Regions from separate parts of the Homo sapiens genome. Here all the other regions are linked to region 3. The links are contacts of gene promoters, found by promoter capture Hi-C in blood cells and fetal thymus (Javierre and others, 2016). All regions are on one chromosome and are shown on one strand. Each heading gives the region's core, a stretch centred on a gene start or on the middle of the fragment in contact. The rest is flanking DNA. Distances are from core to core; before and after follow the strand shown. Region 1 has its middle 13 kb from the start of PRR9. Region 2 has its middle 6.6 kb from the start of LCE7A. Region 3 holds the start of SPRR1A (small proline rich protein 1A).

Region 1 (3,792 bases), core at 66-2,565, 250 kb after region 3:
CAGGTAAGAAGACCAGGGGCTCAGTTTTGAACCTGTCAATTTTGAGACGCATACAGAATAACCAAGCAGAAATACAAAGTAAGCACTTACATCTATGAGTCAGGAGCGCGGGAAAAATTCAGGAATGGAGATCTACACTTGGGAGCCATCATCGTAGGGGTAGCATTCTAGCTTTGGGGTGTATAGATCATCCAGTGACAGAATATAGATTAAGAAAAGAAGGGAACTTAAGACCATGCCCTGAGAAACCTCAACAGCTAAAGGTTGAGAAGAGAGAGAGCCCTTGGCAAAAGATTAAGAAGGAGTCAATGATTTAAGAGAAAAGTCAGGAAGGAGAGAGTGTGCAAAATGCTGAATGCCACTGAGGATCAGGAAGTGCCCACACTGAGTGACAACATGGAGAGCAGGCATGGGGGTGGGAGGGTCCAGCCAGGCTGGTCACCCAGGGATTGCTCAAATACTGGAACCTCTTCCCACTCACTTCTCTTCTTCTAAGGCACAGTGGTTTGCCATTAGATCCTGGTACATGGGAATAAGTGAGTGAATGAATGATAAATGATCTGAGGACCCAAAAGGTTTAACAGCTTGACCAAGATTATCCGGCCAGTAAGTATCAATGCCAGAGCTGAAACCCAGCTCATCTGATTCCAATGCCCATATTCTTGGTTTAAAAATACAAGCTTTAACCCAGGGGAAATACCTTTGATGACACACTCTCTGTCATGTTTAATATCATACTTTAAGGACTATTATACTTATCTCTAAAACTGAATCTATGGCTTAGGAGTTCATCAAAAACTAGGGTAGGGAGTGAGAGGCATCCCCTAAGGTCGCCTATCCAGGGGATAATGCATGAAGGAATAACCTTTACACTAAATGAATGTATAGTTTGGGTTACATCCTTGAGACCCTGTCTCAACTGACGAGCATGTGAGAGTCTGGCCACTCGCCCTGTAGGGCCAGCTCAGAGGGGAGCTTGGTGTTCTGGAGTTGTCGGTCAGGGGTGATGGTGGTGACTGTGGTATCGTGGGGGCCACCACCGCCATTCATGGTTGAAAGAAAAGAGGTGGTCAGCTGGCAGGGCCTTCTCAACTCAACCTCCCTCATCACCCGGTTCCCAAGCCAGCCTCATAACCAGTCCTCCCTCCTTTAGAAGCCGCTGGGGACCCCTTTTCTCTTCTCTTCCCAACAGCACCACCTGCTGGCCATAGAGGCACTTGGCCTTCTACTAATCACACCCAGTCTGGCCTGAGTTGGAGATGGCCGCACACACTCGGGTCCAGTCAATGCTCCATGTGGAGAAGACAAGAGTACAGAGATGCAGCATCTAACAGAGTCAGAGGAAGGCTATATGTGCAAGACAGAGTTACATTACTTATAGGGTGGGAGCAACACGAATAATGGTTCAGGACATAGGCTCAGGAATCAGACTTCTGGAATTCAAATCTAGACTCCACCACTTCTATTGTTCCCTTAAAACAAATTTCTCCTATGTGAGAGTAAGTGACACAGAATCTCCTATGAGCCAAGCACTGGAGTTACAGCAGCGAACCAGATACACAGAATCCCTGCCTCCCAGAGCTCACATGAGGAGGAAGACAGACAAAAAGCAACTCAGCAAATGCATAAATAAGAAATTGAAGAAAATGAAACAAAATGACCAGGGAAGAGGGGTGCTCTTTAGCTCGGGTAATGTGGAAAGGCCGATCTGAGGTGAGAGCAACAGAAATGATGGGTTACATGATGGTGGCAATGGCAGCGTGCTGGAGGTGAGAGGAAATCTGAGGGAACATTTTCTTGAATGTGAATTGACTGACAAAAGTGTCACTGAACACATTACCTTTGATTCCTAAATAGCCAGAATGACAAAGCCTATCTGTAGATTACTCATTGTGTTCTCATTCATTTATTTTTTCATTCAACAAATCTTTGTTGAGTAGCTACTGTATGCCAAGCTTTCCTTTAGGTGCTGGAGATGTAGCAGTAAACAGACCAAAAGTGCTGTTTTTGTGGAGTTTACACTTAGAGGACACCAAAAGCTCATTTATCCATTCACTGAGCTCCTGCTGAGCACCTAATGCCAAGCATGATGCCAGACACTGATGGGTCCCAGACCCTAAACAATAGGGCTATCTTGGGGTGGGCACATTGTGGCCAGGGTGAATATGCACCTGCATCTGTTTAGGTTTGTTCACAGGCATAAACACACACCTGCCTGAGCATGTATCCCATCAAACCTCAGACAACATGTATATACTGTTCAGATGTTTTTCAAAATGCATCGGGAAGACCCCGAAGGGGTCTCAGTAGAGGCTTTTTATTTGATTCAAAGCTTCAAAAGATTATTCCATCTGCAAAATGTATAAAGGCTGGATGTTGGAGGAAGCATGAAATAGGGAGAGGAAGGACCTGCTACTAGAGTTATGGCTAAAGGTGGTAGATGGCAGCAGTGGAGACAAAGACAAGAGGGTGACGCTAAGTGTTTTGGAGGAATAACTAACAGGAGTAGCAGGGGGACTCAATGTGTGGGGTAAAGGAGGAGAAAGAAGGCAGAAATACTCCCAAGTTTATGGCTTAGGCCACTAGGTGGATGCAGAGAGGTGAGGACTAGGAGATATGTGGGTACATGTCTGAAGCTCAGAGATATCTGGGCCAAAAATGTACATATTTGAGAGCTGTCATCACATAGAAGGTATTTAAAGATATGTGAGTGGCTGAGATCACCCAAGGAGAAGAAGAGAGGGCCCTACCGAGCTGAGGACTCCACAAGATCTCAAGGTTGGACAGCGCAGAAGGAGCCTGTACAGCCAGCTGACAAAGAGCGGTCAGTGAAGGAAGAGAAACTAGGAGGGTGGAGACTGGAAAGACAAGAGAAGACAGGTGTCCAAGAAAGGAAGGAAAATCAATGGAGTCAACCAATACTAACTGGTCAAGAAATGCAGAGTGGCTGGTGACCTTGATGAGGACAGCCTGAGTGGGGACACAGAGGCCAGAACAGAACAGAGTGGACTGAGGAGCAAAGGGAGGTACCAAGCAGGGCAGTCTGTGGGGTTCCTGGATGCAGCTGGATTGGTTTGCTGCTCAAAGAAAATCCCAGCTCAGACCTACTCTAGGACAGAAGAGGCCTTCATGAAAGATGCCTGGCTGCAGGTGTCCAGGTGTGGGAAGGTGAGTGGGAGGAGGCAGGACTGAGCAGCACTTCCCCAAACCAGGAGGGAAGCCAACACCGAAGCCCAGGCTTCCATTTATAGAGTTTCCACAAGTGGACCCGGACTACTCCACCCTGTTCACAAAGCAACCTCGCCTGAACCTTTGACACCAGAGGCTGAGTCAGGCCCAGATGGCAAACACACTTTAAGCCCTAATCAGACTTTGCATGGGTTTACTCAGCCCATGCCTGCTTCTCTGCCCCTACCATGTCCTCCTAGAAGAGGGAGCACCTCTTCCCCGTCACCCCCCAGAGACTCACCTGCATGAGGTTCACACACTGCACTCTCTCACACCATATACCACACACACACACGCACACACATACATACACAAAGTCAGTGTGATGATTCCAGATGCTGGAACCATGCCTCCCCTTGCCCTTTGCCAAATGCCTGCCATGCTGGCCACAGAGGCAGAAGGAAAATGACAATTCTGCCCTTTTGTAATGCATGCTACTATTTTTGTCCATCACAGGTTCCTCAATTTGAGGCCTAAGTGTTCCTAGACTTCATCCGGTGTTGGAGGAAGCCCTTGCTGCCAGGGAAGCCCCAGTGTGAAGACAGGACATAGCAAACCTCAGGG
Region 2 (3,737 bases), core at 736-3,235, 130 kb before region 3:
TGGATTAGGGAGAGTGTTGTGAAACCAGCTTTGCTTAGTCACCAACATGCTCTCTTGGCATTCATGGGTATTCATAAATCATGGGAGAAATAAAGAGATAGGCCCCCATCATTGAGGGACACTGAGCTAAACAAATGATAATAATAATAAGAAGAAGAAGAACAGCAACAATCTGTATTTATATAGTGCTTACTACGTACCAAGTACTCTTCTAAGCACTCTACTCATATTACTTATTTAATTCTCACAACACCTCTATGAAGGAGATGTTATCACCATTTTACAGACCAGCAACTAAGGCAGAGATGTCAAGTGACAAGCCTAAAGTTTACAACCAGTAAGTGACGAAACCTAGGCTTGAAGTTAGGAAATCTGGCTACCAACACTAAACACTGAGCTGCTATGCTGTGCTCCCAGAAGTGTGATGCTGTGCTCCCAGAAGTGTAGTGCTGGATGGGCATGCTCTCCTCTTGCTACCTTGCATCCCTGCTCCTCCTCCATCCACCCCTAGTCATAAACACTGGGTTGGAACTTAATCAACCCTAGGTTTAGTCTTGATTCTGACACTATTTTAACTTTGTGGATTAAGTAAGGTGACTTCTGTGAACCTCCAACTCTTGTTTCTAAAATGAAGGCCTATAACCAAGCCCACTGAAATATTTTATTTGTAATTAACTCAATCATTCAATGAACCCCTAGTAAGTACCAGCTATATGTAAAGAACTGCTTTATTTAGGTATTATAGTGATTACCTCTTTATGATCTGATCTTATGCATTTTTTGGAGAAAAATTTCTTTTTTTTATTATACTTTAAGTTCTAGGGTACATGTGTACAACGTGCAGGTTTGTTACATATGTATACATGTGCCATGTTGGTGTGCTGCACCCATTAACTCGTCATTTACATTAGGTATACCTCCTAATGCTATCCCTCCCCACTCCCCCAACCCCATGACAGGCCCCAGTGTGTGGTGTTCCCCACCCTGTGTCCAAGTGTTCTCATAGTTCAACTCCCACCTATGAGTGAGAACATGCGGTGTTTGGTTTTCTGTTCTTGTGATAGTTTGCTCAGAATGATGGTTTCCAGCTTCATCCATGTCCCCACAAAGGACATGGACTCATCCTTTTTTATGGCTGCATAGTTTTCCATGGTGTATATGTACCACATTTTCTTAATCCAGTCTATTATTGATGGACATTTGGGTTGGTTCCAAGTCCTTGCTATTGTGAATAGTGCCGCAATAAACATACGTGTGCATGTGTCTTTACAGCAGCATGACTTATAATCCTTTGGGTATATACCCAGTAATGGGATGGCTGGGTCAAATGGTATTTCTAGTTCTAGATCCTTGAGGAATTGCCACACGGTCTTCCACAATGGTTGAACTAGTTTACAGTCTCACCAACTGTGTAAAAGTGTTCCTATTTTATTGGAGAAAAATTTCTAACAAAGATAACAATGTGGAAAGAAATGGACTGCCTTGTGAGGTAATGAGTTCTCCAACTAAAAGCATTTTCATTTAGGCCAGGAAGCTCACCACTAGGCATGTGGGTGAGGAGATACAAGCTCCTGGTGGAAAACCACACTACATTCTTTCTAAGGCCTCTGCAAGGCTAAATAAGTTTGTGAGTTTACTATGCTTCCTGCATCTTTCAATTTCCTAGGAAGATCCCTAGAGGAGCTCAGAGGAAGGTGGTAGGACTGTGAAAATGTTGTTACCAGAATGTTTCATGGGCTGGCTATAGTTCTACGGTTCTACCAGAACATGCCAGGACAGTGGCTACCAAACTAGGTAGAATAACCTGGGAAATAGTTAACCAATGTAAATCATAAAGACCCACTCCTTGGAGATTATGATTCAGTAGGTCTTAGTTAGAGACCAGGTGTCTGCTTCTTTTATTTTTTATTCATTTATTTTATTATTATTATTATTATTATTTTGACAGAATCTCGCTTTGTCACCAGGCGGCTGGAGTGCAGTGGCACTATCTCGGCTCACTTCAATCTCCACCTCCTGGGTTCAAGCCATTCTCCTGCCTCAGCCTCCCGAGTAGCTGGGATTACAGGCGCGTACCACCACACCCAGCTAATTTTTGTATTTTTAGTAGTGATGGGGTTTCTCCATGTTGGCCAGGATAGTTTCAATCTCCTGACCTTGTGATTTCCCTGCCTTGGCCAACCAAAGTGTTTGGATTACAGGCGTGAGACACCACACCTGGCCGGGATCTGCATTTTAAAAGTACTTCCAAGATGGCTCATGTTCCCAACCAGGTTTGCAATTCTTGATCTACAACAGCACTGAGAGTCCAGGACAGCTTCCTTGCTTTGCGCAGTTCTTTGCCGGGCTTGCCTTATTGCTCTGCACCCTTACAGACTGTGTGATATGCACTTACTTTTAACTGTCCAGTATTCAGTTTTTCTAGATGCAATAATAACAAACTCTCAAGGTTGTTAAGAAGAGAAAATAAAGCATGTGAAATGCAATACAATGCATTACAAAGCATGTGAAATGTAATACAACGTATTACAAAGCATGTGAAATGCAATGCATGGAGGGATGTGAGGGGCTTCCCTTGTGTGACCACCATCACTAAAAGAATGAATGGTTTAGAACTACAGGCTCACAGAGTGATGGAACACGGGGTCTTGGTGTCACAGGTGAAGGTGTGGGCTCCAGAAAGATTGAGCAACTTGCCTAATGCTTCTTAATGTGTCCCCCCATGCCCTTAAGAGTTTTGTAGTGGCTTTCCTAGGTAAAAACACTACTGAAAACAGGCTTTGAGGTGAAGGGTGGTGATAAGAGGGATTCATCTTCCCTACCTTTCTCTTAAGATGTGTTAATTGCAGGATGAGAGATACAGTCCAGCTGGGTTATCTCCTTTAGGCACAGTGGAGAAAATGATGGAGAGATCAAAGGCATGGAGTTGTGATGAGCCAGAGATATCATCAGAACAACTGTTTCCAAGAATAGGAGGGCGGTGGAGCCAAAGATCTGTTCTGCTCACCTTAGTTGGTAGAATTCATCTTTAACATCAGCAAAAAGACATGAAGTTTCACAGGAGTCAGAAAGCTCTGTCATTGTAGGCAGTGGAGTCTCCTTTCTTAGAAGATTCAGAAACATATTCTTGGGATTTTAGAAATATATTCTTATTTAAAAATATATTCTTGGGTCTGGAGGAAAATGATAGGCAAGATGATCACTCTTCATCCCTTCCTATTTTAGGATTAACAGGCATCACTTGATGGTGACATGTGTAAATACAGGCTCCTGATAAGGTGTTTTAGCTATTGCTCCATTCACCAAAGTCAACCAAGAAGCCAGGGCAGGGCCTAGGATCCAAAGAGGGCATCGTTCCATGTGTTACATAGGAGAAGGATTGGCGAAGCTATCGGAGACAATAAATCAGGGAGTCACCCAGGCTCTAATATGGTCTAGAGCAACCACAAGCACAGAGATCTCATAATTACCTTAGTGATCAAGATGAAAGCAACAATACTCATTTTACAAATGAAGAGACTGAGGCCCAGAAGAGGCAAGTGGCTCATAGCTGGTCAGAGTCAGGACTAGGCTTGTGCTCCAGGGATGACCTGCTGCTTCTTTCCAAGGGAGTTTTCTACAGCTGGAGATATTAGGGAAAAGAGGGGCCACAACACTGGTACGAGATGATATTGGTGTGCATCCCCCATCCTAAAGGAATAGAGCTCAGCATCTGGAGAATAACTGGGACTGTAATA
Region 3 (3,792 bases), core at 1,293-3,792:
GCTGTCAGGGCTCCTGGGTGGGGACTTGGTGAAGAAGGGGACCTGGGCACAAACCTAGAGGAGAGCTAAGTGAGGCAAGAGTCTTGGAGCTCAGGTGTCCTGGTGGGGCTGGCACCAGCCCGGAGCAAGGTGGGGCATTAAACTGTTTGACAGTGAGGCAGGTGGGTGGGGAGGGCAGCAGGTACACTGTGTACCGGAGCTTCTAGGCAGGTTTCAAAGTAGACTCTCAGCCTGTCTTTACAAATAACGCCATTCAGTCATTCATTCATTCAGTCAGCCAGCCAGCCAGCCAGCCAGGCAGTCGGTCTATAAATGCCAGTCACCAAGCAGCTTCTGCACGCCAGGCACTGTGTGAGGATGGAGATGGATAGGGACCAATGGCTGCATGGACACAGTGGGAGGCTGACCTTGGCCTCAGGTTCACTGGCTGTGGAGCCAGCAGGTGCTCCACAAACATTTAGGTGTGTGTTTGGGTAAAGGAGGGGTTAGATGAGGAGGAGGAACCATCTGAACACCTGAGTTTTAAGGATGATTTGGATTTTCCAAAGGCCACACCTAGTAACAGTTTGTGTTTTGAGTGCAGCTCTGAATCAGAGACCTCAGTTTTATGGCAATTGCCTATGGAAAGATTGAGGGAACCCCTGTTCTTGTGTCCCCAGGAAAGAGAAGTTCCTTGGCAGGGCAGAATCTGACCATCGTGGAGTGAAGGCAAGCATGTGCAGGTGCTCAGGGGCTTATCACCTACTGCCTCCCCCAGTGCCTTCACCTCAGCTGTGTCACGATGTCACTCTGAGAGCTCCCCTAGAGCGAAAGCAACTCAGGATAGAAGCAGACATTTTAGTTTTGGCTTTTCCCTTCCTTTCTCCGACCCTGGTGCCCTGAGTAATGATAAACTGAACCTTATTTCCACCTATTCTAATTCATGCCCTTCTTACTTTAGCAGAGCTAGAAACACCCACTGTTTAGAGCCACTCAAATATTAAGCATCTTTATTTCTACTTAAAGGGATTTATCTTAGCACCGATTAAGGCTTACCCACAAGGCAAGGCTCTTTCTGTGTCCTCACGCTGTCACTCCTAAAACTTTCCAGAACTACAAGTGACCCAGCTCTCAGTCAGGAAGGGCTCCCCTTTCCACCTCTAATCAATTTTCTGCCTGGGCTTAATTTCCTCCATAGACATTAGGGAGTCACAAGGAATTAAAACAAAGGAGAACACAGGATTTCTGTGTAAAATTCTTTTCTTCCTAGGGTTTGTTTTTTTGACCTTGGTGAGTTATTTCACCTCTGGTGGCCTCAGATTCCCCAATCATCCCTTGAGGAGTGTGAACTAAAGGCTCTCTGAGATCCATAATCTCAGTGGCTCTCAACTGTGCTCTGTCTCTTACCCTGGGGAGTTCATGATCTGTAGAGGAAAAGTGGGCTTCCTCATCAGAGAGCTCCTAGAATGACAGGCATGATGGGCATATGTTAGGCTCCCCACTGAGATTTGTTGAATAAATGAGGAAATAAACACTGTGGTGGGGACACCGTTGCTTTAAGCAGGAACAGCTCTGACCCTCGGAAAGCCCCCAGGAGATACAGACCCAGAAGGAGGAGGAAAACCTTGCAGCCAGCAGGATCTCTAGGTATTGGGGCTGGAGCTGGCAGTGGGCAAAAGTGGAGAAGGATTCAGCATTGAGGACCCCATGGATGGGCTGCAGGGAGGCAGGTAGAAAAGGCTTTTGGGTTTTCAGGTGGGGGGCAGTCTAGCCTGATCAGAAAGGAGGAAAAGGCCAGGGCCAGATGTCTGGGTGGAGTGAAGGGAAAAAGTGATCCCAGAAGAAGGATTAGCCCCTGAAAGTCCCTGAAGTAGGAGAAGGGTAAAGGTGTGGTTGGTGAAGGAAAGCAGGTTTTCCCAGATTAGCAACCAGTCAGGGGGAGGAAGGTGAGAGTGGGAGAGTCATAAGTAAATTATTCTGAATGTGTGTAGTTTAATGGAATTGGGAAAAAGATGGGGGAAATGGATGGAAGGGTCTTGGACTCTGAGACAAGGGGTCTATAATCAGTCCATTTCATTATTTCTAGCTTCCACCTTCACCAAGGCAGACAAGGAGGGCCCACCTCAGCTCCTCTGCTCCCCCTCCCTTTCCCACCTATTCATGTGTGCAAGAGTGCCCTGTCCCACAGAACACGGGGAACAACCATCTCAATGACAAGGACAGCAGGTGGCAAGGCCTCAACAGGACTCAGATGTCCCCCCAGGGTTAACTCATGAAACCCTCCATGAAGCCTGCTGCTCACCCCTCCCTCAAGGCAAGCCCTGCACCTGGGTCTGAGGATGAGGGTGGCAGTGAAAATTAGGCCAGTGACATCATTTTCAGCCAGCCAGTGCCAAAAAATATCAGGTGGTGTTCATCAAAAAAGCTGAGCCAACCGGTGATGAGGATGGTAGTGTGAGTCATGTGTGACAGGTGAGGAATGAAAACAGAGTGCCCGAGAGCTTCTATTTCCTTGAGGCAGGGCTCATTCATCTTATAAAAGCCAGCTGGCCATTGCCTTCACACCAAACCCAAGGGACCACACAGCCCATTCTGCTCCGTATACCAGGTAAGTCTCTGATTGCAACAAACTGGCAATTCTAGTGTACTTTTTCATTATTAGAAATTAGCTAAAGGCAAATATGTGTAAGCAGGTTAATCCAGGGTTTCAATGGGAGATAGAGAATAGTGGAATATCTTTATTTTAAGTTAAATTACAGTCTGGATTTGAAAGGACCTTAGAGATGGTTAGGGCTCCCACCTCAGTAGATAGTCATTGAACTGGGAGTCCTGGAGAAGATTGTTCAAATGCCCATGGGAAGTTCATAGCAGAACTAGAACTCAGGCCCAGAGCACTCTCAGTAACACTGCAATTTCCCCCTGACAAGATATTTATAGAAATTTTAATTTATTAGATGGATCTCTACTGAGCATTTATTCCATTTAAGGCAGTATGCTAGGCACTTTGGACAAATCAATGCCTAACGTACTTACTTAACAAACATAAAACCTAGCAGGAAGGTAATACATATATATAAATAAATGAAATGCAAAGTAGATAGTAATTGGCATGACGGAGATGGGCAGAGAAGGGCTGTGCACTTTTGGGAGACCTTGCTCAAGGAGACCCTCCTAGGGGTGTCAAGTGATGTGAGCTATGATGGAGGGGTATTTGGACAAGCAGAGATGGGAAGAAAAGCATTTGGAAGGGACTGTGTAAGCACAGACCAGAAGCAAAACCATAGAGGCTTAGATGAATATAAAGCCATCCTATAAGTCACAGGCTTTCTACATGGTACTAGGAGAGGAAAGTGGTCTGATGCCATTTTCCAAAAGACCTAATATGCGGACCTCATGTCCCTCAGAAGCCAGCTTTAGTAGGGCATTTTTCCAGAACAGATATAAGTTGCCTTGGGTAGGAAGGGAGCCAAGAAGAGAACTCCAATAAAATGGAGCAGAAGAAATTGCCTTTTAGCTCCTCCTCTTCAAAGGGCCTGAAAATTATCCAAGCTTATTTCATTTTTAAATGTAATGGGGGAGTTAAGGGAGATGAAAGGCTTTCTCTTCTAAAGGGTCCTGAAATAAAATCTGTTTGGCATTGAATTTGTATCCATCTTTCTTTAATTGAATCACTGTGTCAGCTTTCTGTCTCTAGAAAAAAACACATTTGAAGCATGAATTCTCAGCAGCAGAAGCAGCCTTGCACCCCACCCCCTCAGCCTCAGCAGCAGCAGGTGAAACAACCTTGCCAGCCTCCACCCCAGGAACCATGCA

What was found. The method cuts DNA at HindIII sites, captures the fragments that hold promoters and counts their contacts. A CHiCAGO score of 5 or more calls a contact.
Region 1: a fragment that was not itself captured here is called in contact with the fragment with the promoter of SPRR1A in region 3 in 2 of 17 cell types (megakaryocytes and erythroblasts); the score reaches 7.0 in megakaryocytes.
Region 2: a fragment that was not itself captured here is called in contact with the fragment with the promoter of SPRR1A in region 3 in 1 of 17 cell types (naive CD8 T cells); the score reaches 5.1 in naive CD8 T cells.

Annotation. Positions count from the first base shown.
Region 1 is chr1:153,228,262-153,232,053 of GRCh38, forward strand. No RefSeq gene overlaps it. Among named protein-coding and RNA genes, the nearest start is that of PRR9, 13 kb to the left of the region's middle. The HindIII fragment of the contact is 1,275 bases long and covers 679-1,953 here.
Region 2 is chr1:152,851,514-152,855,250 of GRCh38, forward strand. No RefSeq gene overlaps it. Among named protein-coding and RNA genes, the nearest start is that of LCE7A, 6.6 kb to the right of the region's middle. The HindIII fragment of the contact is 6,660 bases long and covers 1-3,737 here.
Region 3 is chr1:152,981,539-152,985,330 of GRCh38, forward strand. It overlaps SPRR1A (small proline rich protein 1A), which reads left to right and starts at 2,543. Exons shown (of 2, transcript NM_005987.4): 1 at 2,543-2,587; 2 at 3,674-3,792. The coding sequence starts at 3,693. The HindIII fragment of the contact is 3,855 bases long and covers 1-3,526 here.